3 separate regions of the Homo sapiens genome follow, and regions 1 and 2 are each linked to region 3. The links are contacts of gene promoters, found by promoter capture Hi-C in blood cells and fetal thymus (Javierre and others, 2016). All regions are on one chromosome and are shown on one strand. Each heading gives the region's core, a stretch centred on a gene start or on the middle of the fragment in contact. The rest is flanking DNA. Distances are from core to core; before and after follow the strand shown. Region 1 holds the start of CWC15 (CWC15 spliceosome associated protein). Region 2 holds the start of NPAT (nuclear protein, coactivator of histone transcription). Region 3 holds the start of DCUN1D5 (defective in cullin neddylation 1 domain containing 5).

Region 1 (2,700 bases), core at 37-2,536, 8.1 Mb after region 3:
AAGCAATTACAATCCAGGTAGGAGATGGTGTTGGCAAAGGCAAGGGTAGTGGCAGTAGAATAAAATTGCGGGTGAGTTTTAAAAGTAGAATTGTTAAGACCTGTAAATGAACCGTATGTGAAGAGTGAATGAAAAGGAATTTAAGTAGGCACTCCGGGATTTTGGTTTGAGTAACTAGCATGATGATCGCGTCTTTTAGTGAGACTTGTTAAGACTGGAGGAGGGATACCTTCGGTAAGAAAAATCAGGATTTTCATCTTGAACTCTATGACTGAAAGGGCTTTTTCTGCTTTTCTTTCTTCATTAAAAAGTTGCAAAGAATTTAGGGGTAAGAAAGCATTTAAATATTCAATTTTGTGAGTTCCTTACATTTTAAACTAAGTTGGGGAAGTTGAATTTTCATTTGTTTAACAAATATTAATTGAGCAGCTACTATACGTCAAGGTCTATGTGATGAGATACCAAGATGAGCTAAACAACCAAGATCTCTATTCTCAGAATTTGTTTTTATGGAAGGGAGGAGAGACGACTGGTAGGTTTTTGGTTTTCGGGTTTTCTACTTTTCGTTGTCTTATTAAAACTTAACACTTAAGTAGCCATCTTAATAATTACATCTTGTGCTCCTGGTAGTTGGGCCCACCATTGTAAACGCTCTCGTAAATACTGACATCTCCCCTCCCACTAAAACTAACGTTTTTTAAATAAGAAATTTTAGCAAACATTACGAATACAACCTTTGCTTTGAAGTGTTAATATTTTTGCAGGAATGGTACCTTTGTAAAGATCGTGGTTGCCCCGTACATATTTGTTCTTTCTTCATATCCAATTAAATGAAAACACTAGTTTTTCCGAAGCCCAACTCTCTAGGTTTGTTGGTTCTAGCTCAGGAGAAAGGATGGAAGCAGGAGTCGTTGGATTTAAACAGTTTGGTGTAATCCTTTTCCACGCTCTCTCCCGCTAGCCGGGGACGTGGTGTCGGCTACCCGGGGCTTTCCGTCCACGCAGTACCGGAATGAAGGAGTCTGGGAGGGGGTCGGGGACGGAAAAGACGGAAGAGACATTAAGTAATTGGTTCTTGAAGGTATAAAATGAGGTTTAGGGTCTACTCTAAGGCACTGATTTCAAACGCCCGCCCCCTGGGCCGCTTCGGCCCCGCCCCTTAGTGCCGTTACGCCGACTTCCACTTCGGCCACTGCGGATTGGTCGTTGCTTCCGCCCCCGAAGCGCTTGGATTTTGCTTCCGGGTCGTAGGCGCTAGCTCTGGGCGCAGAGGTTTCTGGGAGCCAAGAGTGGTAATGGCGTCTGTATGATCTTCGGAGCCTGCTGCATCGGACCTCGGCCAGTGTGAGCGGCAAGAGGATAGGAGATTATCTTTCTTATCGCGATGGGACGGGAAAGGGCAGTTGGGGTCGGAGTCGGCGGCAGAGTGCAGAGCGCGGGCGGTGGAGGCCCTGGAGCAGCGGGCTAGGGGCGGAACCGAGTGCCTGTCAGGCGCGTCTGGAGCTCTTGGGCCCGCCGAGGAGATCGCAGCGTACAGGCAGCTCGCCTACTGCGTAAAGCGAACCCCAGGTCCTCCCTTCACTACCCTTCGCACCCCTGCAGTGCTGGGCACGGGTGAAGAGGCAGCGAGTTTCTGGTTATAGCCAAAGACTAGCTCACGGGAGGCCGGAGTGATAATTCCGTGGGTGTGTGGGAAGGGGCGGCGCCCCCAGCGCCAGATAACCCTGTTTTCTTCTTTGTATACATGTCTCTACCCTTTTTGAAAGTTGAGAGAATTAGCATCGCCCCCCCCCCAAAAAATCCTCCCAATTCGCCCACCCTCCCCACACACTTGCTTTTCCGACACTAACAGGGTTTTAGTGACTGCATCTGCTGCACAGTATTCTTGTGACTGCTCCAAGCAGAAAGTAACTTGAGGAATGAGTCCCTGATTTTTGGCATCAGAATCCTCTGGGGGTGAGGTTCCTGTTTTTTTTGAACAGGCCTTAAATTATAACCCACAAACGATCTAATTTATAGTATGATGCCTGTTGTAGGAGAAAATTGGCTCAACAAACGGTTGTTTAAGAATTTTTTTCTGTGTAACTGTCATTGAAGTTTAACACACTTTTCTCTGGGACATTTAGTAACTTTGTCAGTGATATTTTTTGTTTGTTTTTAGCTTTTGTTTCTACTAGCCTATTTGCTATTGTGTGAAGTTTAGATAAAATGCAAACCTTACAGAGTCTGGTAGAGTAAGGTTGAGTTGGAAATTTTTAAAACTCAGTCATGGCAGTACTGTATTTTACTAGGGTTTTGACATGTCAAGTGTCATAATTCTTATAATCTATGAGGAATATCTCCATTCCACAGATGACAAAGTTAAGCCAGGTGACTTGCTCAAGCCCATATAGTCAGAAGGAGAATAGGGATGCAAACTCAGATCTTCATGACAGAATTTTTTGTACTAAGGCAAGCCTGAGAAGCCATATTCCTTGTACAGCCTAAGCCTCATAATTTGTTTTCTTGAAAACTTTTGTTTAAGAAGATTAAGCAGGTTTTGGGGAATGAGTTTTAGAACTTATTTTACCAGTATGGATATTGATTAATACTCTATAAAATGAGTGTTTGTAATGTTGGAAATAACTTGATTATATTTTTCTTCAAAGCATAAAAGATGACAACAGCAGCCAGGCCAACCTTTGAACCTGCCAGAGGTGG
Region 2 (2,884 bases), core at 1-2,500, 5.1 Mb before region 3:
GCGGCTCGCCCTTCGGCTCGGGCTCCGGGGCTCTCACCCACCCTCTTCGCCCTCGTCGTCCTCCCCGCCCTCCTCATCCCCGCCCCTCCAAGTCTGAGGACGGAAGTGACGACAGTTCCGAAGGCGAACGGAGGCGGGTTTCATTTCGGCGCCTTTCTTTCTCTGGCGGAAGCGATTGGCTGCCGTGAAGCGAAAGAGGCGGGACAAATTGCCGCGAGTTCAGTGCCGCCACTGGAACCAGGAGATGCGGCGCAGGAGCTGTCGCTGTGTTTGCTTTAACCTGAGTCTTGTTCCTTATTGTGGTTCCTGCTGTGGTTTTGATCATGTTGTTACCCTCGGACGTAGCCCGGCTTGTATTGGGTAAGCGCGGACGCGGGATGGAGGGTTATTGGACCCGGCTATGCTGGACAGAAGGACCTTTGAGGCCAAAGGTTTTCCCTTGGTAGGGAAGCTTTGGGGTTTTGCCTCCCAGCTTACGAGTTGAGACTGGCGGTGATTCTTCGTCATTCGGAGGTTCTGGGCAGTTTAAGCCTCTTTGTATGTAGATGCTCCTCTCTTCAGAGGCTGCGTGGCGAGGGGAAGCCCGAGGGGAAGCTCGGGGTGGAACACCTGGGGCGGATTCGGAAGGAAAGTCAGGCCTCCACACTTAATTAGGACCCCTGAAAGAGCATTTGTCTGCATGACGGACGGATTGCGTGTGCTTCAACCTTGGGCGCAATTTCCTTGGTTCAGTGTTGGGACCAAAATAGGGCAAATAGGGAGTTCCCCGGCCCCCCATCTTTGTAGAGAGACCTTCCTGGCGCCCTTCTAATAACCCGCCCTTATAACTACGAATTTGGGAGTAGGGGTGATCTTCCTTCTCCATCCTCCACGCAATACGTCGTCCAGTGTAGAGGTGTGAAATGCCAGTTGCATATTTTAAAACAGCAATTCCTGTTCCTTTGATCAGCGAAAAATTTCAGAGGGTTAATTGCCTTAAATTAGTTGAACGTTTTCTAGCCCTAGTTTTACCTTCATTTGAGGAGGGATTGTTTGTGGGTCACTTGTCTGTCAGGGTGTATTGTCTGTGTGAGAGACGGGTTTTGTTGTTGTTTGTCCCCTGAAAGAATAAAGAGGATTGTACTACAGGGGACGAGAGCCAGGTAAAGCTCAAAACCCGAGCCAGTAATTTACGGACGTCGTATGCGACGTCCCTAAAAGTAAATGGCAAGCATCTGTGATGAAACCTCCCATAGTATTCACAGCCATTACTACTATTATTTTATTGTTCGGAAAACCCATTTGTCTTGTGCCTCTTTTAAATGCCCAGCGCTGTCCACAAAAATGTTATTTGCGCAGGGCTCTTGATAAGCACATTTTGCAGGAAACGTTAAACGGAAATGGTTCCACCATCCATTTTTGAAGAAACTTAATGACAAGTTTAATGTTTTGTTAATGTCTGATTAATCTTTTGCTTAAGAATTCTGAGTTTTGGCAGTTTGGTAATCTAGTTGAGTTTCGGTAACTATAGTCTTAAACATGGTTTCTCAGCCTCAGTACTGTTAACATTTTGGGCCTCATAATTCTTTATTGTGGGGAGCTATCCTGTGCTCAAACATTGTAGGATGTTTAGCAGCATTCCTGGCTTCTATTCACTAGATTACAGTAGGACACCCGTTCCCCACCCTACCCTTACCCAGTTGTGATCAGTGAAAATGTCTCTAGATATTGCTAGTATGTCCCCTGGAGGGCAGAATCACCCCTAGTTAAGAAAGCCCTAAGAAAGCAGTATCATTTTCTAATTGAAATAATTCACATCGATGTGTGAGTATTCTTTCTCCACAAACCAGCTACTCTGCTGACTTCCTGCTTTTCATTTAATGGACAAAAAACGCCAGCCATGGTTTTCTTATCTTAAAAATCTTTGTCATTCACATTCCATTTTCACTGCCACCAATCCCGCAATGTGCCTGCCATTACTTCTCTTTTGGACTTCTGTCATGGCTTCCCAGACAGTTGTCCTCGCAATTCATTTTATTTACTGTTGTTACAAATCTCCCTGAAGCTTTCACACTATACCTTTTAGTCTGAAAGTTGAGATAATTCTATTCTTACTAAAAATTTCAGATGGGCAGGAGTATACAATACAAAAAAGCCTCCCCATGCCTAATGCTCTTACTTTTGTCGTTTATCATTTTACATCTTAAATAGATACATATCGTGTATATCTTTCTCATATGAGGTTTATTATTTACTCATGATTCTTTTCCTATCAGTACCCCCTCGCCATCTTCAGCTCCTCTTGTTATTGGTCCCTTCATAATGTTTTTTTTCTAGCAAATCTTTGGGTGCCTAGTATGTTCCAAACACTGTGCCAATTGCTGAACATAGAGAAGTTAAGTTTTCTCCCCTTAGTGTTCAGATAATTAGGTTTTTTTTAAATTCTTAAACATACACACAAAAAAACACTTTTCTGGACCCCACTAGACATTAGACACCCATTAAACAGAACATTCTGTCTTATGTTCTGTGTCACCCTTTCACAAGTCAAATTTATTCAAAGAACAATGAATTCCACTTAGTTGCTGTTCTTCACCTACCTTTTATCCTTCAGGATACTGCACTCTGACTTTTGCATCTCACTACTCCACTTAAGTAGCCCTTATTGCCTTGCTGGGATTTTACAAAATGTTGTGTGGGCCAGAATACATCAAAGTGTTTGTTGCCTCTGGGCCATCAGTTCAGTTTTTATCTATTTATTCAAGGTGCTCTGTGGAACTGATCCTACCTACCTCTCCAACTTGATCTCAACTTCCTAACATCTGTTTTATGCTGCAGACATGCCAAACGAATTGAAGTTTCTTTGAAAATTCTTGTATGTATTCTACTTCTCTTTGTCTTCCTA
Region 3 (2,751 bases), core at 57-2,556:
ATTTGGGTCATTGTCCTGTAGACTTTTCTGACGTCTAGATATTGCTGATTGCATTGGGTATTTAACATGTTCCTCTGTCCTGTACTTTTTGTAGATGGTAGTTCTATTTAGAGACTTTATCTGATTCTGTTTTGATTTTGGCCTCAGGCATTTTTAAATGGGTTGAAGGATCATATACTTTGACATTCTTTTGGTTTTAAGTAACAGAGAATTGAACTAAATATGCAAAATAGTGAAATTTGTTGCTTCACATAAGTGAAAATTCCAGGGCATATCATGGATTTTGGGCTCATATCATATAATCACATCCTGGTTTTTCTATTTTTCTGCTTGATACTAGTCTCTTCTGAGTTTTGGCTTCATTCTCCATACCTTCTCTGGTTCAAATCCATAGGAAATAAAATTGCTTTCTGGTGGTTCAATTTTGTGTCATTGGCACTCATTGGCCTGGCCTGAGTATGTGTCCATCCTGAACCAATTAATAACACTAAGGAAATATGATATTCGGATTGACCAGATTAGGGTGCCATTGTGAGGGTAGTTTCACAGGAACCACTTCAACTATTACTCAAAGACTTTTAGTCTTCTCCCATCACAGTTGGTTTGCAGAGATTATTTTACCAACAGAATTACTAACGACTTTCTACTATGTCTTTACATACAATAACCATTATTTAAAAACAGTATTTCCACCTAAGTGGAGATGAATAGATTACAGTGTGTTTTGGGTCTAGGGGGAGGTTCCTTAGAACTGTCCCCCAAATTTCTCTCTACTGAGTCGCAGTCACCTACTGTCTCTTATCGGAGAGGTGAGCTCTGTGGAAATAATGGCAGAGCTAAGTTTCAATACAGGACAAAGTGATATGCAAAGGTAGGGAGAAGGGGGAGTGGGTGGCTGATCACAGGCCCATAAAAAAAACACGCAAGACACAGGGTGACAATGCATTTACGGGGTGGGAACACTTCAGGTGAGGTTATCGTGTGGAAGAGCTCAGAAGTGGAACTTGGTCTACTTTACCAGGTTGTTTTTAACGTCAACTGCAAAGTATTAGTAGTTTCACTTTTTGGCGGTGACTGCCAGCATCAGAGCGCGGTAGAAGCTTCATGAGAAAGGTCAGGATACCCTGGACAGGATACAAGAATTCCGCGGACTGCCGCAGTCGACGGGTCAGACAGCTTCGCTCTGCCTGGCCTACCTACGAGTGGCAGAGGCTAACCGGAACCACGCCCCTTCCCGGGACCGGCTCCGCGATTGCGTCACTTCCGGGCCTCAGCGATTCGCCTCCGGGTTAGGCTGAGCCTCTTGCTTGCTGTGACTGGTGGAGCTGCCGCGCTGTCCGCGTTATCTCCTCCCGGTGAGAACGAACCGCAGTGTCCACCGGCGAGGAGCCAGCCCTGTCCCGGTCAGAGAAAGACGACGAGGATACCTGGGAGCGGGCGGCGGCCGGGCTGGGCCGCGCCGGTGCGGGCTGGCGACTCTGCTCCTCCGCTTGCTGCTGTCTCTGGGAACTGGGTGCCAGCGCTGAGGGGCTTCCAGCGGACAGGGACCCCCTTCCCCGGCTCCCCTGCCCACCCTGCCGGGGAGGGCGGAAGATGCCGGTGAAGAAGAAGAGAAAATCCCCTGGGGTGGCAGCAGCAGTAGCGGAAGACGGAGGCCTCAAAAAGTGTAAAATCTCCAGGTACCATCTCCCCCCACCCTTCAAGCTTCCCTCCTCCCTCCTTTGCTGGACAACTGGAGGAAAAGGAGTCGGGCCCGGCCTGCCGGGCTGGGGCTGGAGACAGGTGAGGCCCCTTTGATCGAGCTAGGCTGTAGGTGCCGAACACCGCGAGTCTCCGCGCCCGACCCGACCTCGTGTTCGAGTGTGTGCACGCTGGCGTTTATGGAGAGACTAGAAGAGCCGCCCACGTTAAGAGTCTACGTGCCCTGCAGGGTGGGGAACAGATGCATATGTAAATTGCGCTTCCCCCCACCCCCACCCCCACCCCACAACCGACCCTCGATCCCCTACTCCCGTATCGCTCCTCTGCCTTTTTCTAGACTTAGAAGTGAGTACATATCCGCAGAAGGGTCACTTCTAGAATTTCTTTGTAGAGTGTGAAGAAAGCAGAACATAAGGAATCTTGACAACTGTCTTGGGAATGGTAGAAAGGAAAACTTGTATGCTATAATTGGCCTCCATATTTAGTATTTGGAGTGGCCTAACCCGGAAGGTCCCAGCAGGAGGCCTTTTAAATTGCAGGAGCCCCATTTTCTGGAAGTATAGTGCCTCACCTATGCCAAGTCCCTGTGTGCAGAGTTGGAAAGGCCCTGCATGCTTTTTGTCTTCTAGCATTCAGGACGCTGTTAGCTCTCAGCATAAATTAAATAATTTGTGAGCTCTTGTACTCTGTCCTACTGGTAAGAAAGAAGACAAGGCAGAACTATATAGTAGTAGCTCTTTGATCCCCTTGTAGCATATCATGGAGGCATCACAGCAAAATTTATGCTACAAAAAAACTGCAATTTTGGTTTGAGAAATGGTTTTTTTGTTTTTTTGTTTTGTTTTGTTTTTCTGAGACGGAGTCTTCCACTGTTGTCCAGGCTGGAGTGCAGTGGCGCGATCTCCGCTTACTGCAACCTCCGCCTCCCGGGTTCAAGCGATTCTCCTGCCTCAGCCTCCTGAGTAGCTGGGATTATAGGCGCCCGCCACCACGCCCTGCTAATTTTTTGTATTTTTAGTAGAGACGGGGTTTCACTATGTTGACTAGGCT

What was found. The method cuts DNA at HindIII sites, captures the fragments that hold promoters and counts their contacts. A CHiCAGO score of 5 or more calls a contact.
Region 1: a contact is called between the fragment with the promoter of CWC15 here and the fragment with the promoter of DCUN1D5 in region 3, in 1 of 17 cell types (total B cells). The highest score is 7.8, in total B cells.
Region 2: a fragment that was not itself captured here is called in contact with the fragment with the promoter of DCUN1D5 in region 3 in 1 of 17 cell types (fetal thymus); the score reaches 10.4 in fetal thymus.

Annotation. Positions count from the first base shown.
Region 1 is chr11:94,972,142-94,974,841 of GRCh38, reverse strand. CWC15 (CWC15 spliceosome associated protein) reads left to right here and starts at 1,286. Exons shown (of 7, transcript NM_016403.4): 1 at 1,286-1,344; 2 at 2,649-2,700. The coding sequence starts at 2,657. KDM4D (lysine demethylase 4D) reads right to left here and starts at 1,133. Exons shown (of 3, transcript NM_018039.3): 1 at 774-1,133. RefSeq lists enhancers at 880-1,029, 1,350-1,519, 1,234-2,009. The HindIII fragment of the contact is 9,854 bases long and covers 1-2,700 here.
Region 2 is chr11:108,219,976-108,222,859 of GRCh38, reverse strand. NPAT (nuclear protein, coactivator of histone transcription) reads left to right here and starts at 222. Exons shown (of 18, transcript NM_002519.3): 1 at 222-360. The coding sequence starts at 324. RefSeq lists an enhancer at 267-326. The HindIII fragment of the contact is 1,593 bases long and covers 454-2,046 here.
Region 3 is chr11:103,090,715-103,093,465 of GRCh38, reverse strand. DCUN1D5 (defective in cullin neddylation 1 domain containing 5) reads left to right here and starts at 1,306. Exons shown (of 8, transcript NM_032299.4): 1 at 1,306-1,679. The coding sequence starts at 1,594. RefSeq lists enhancers at 852-901, 972-1,021, 951-1,568, 1,569-2,186 and a silencer at 1,712-2,006. The HindIII fragment of the contact is 604 bases long and covers 1,103-1,706 here.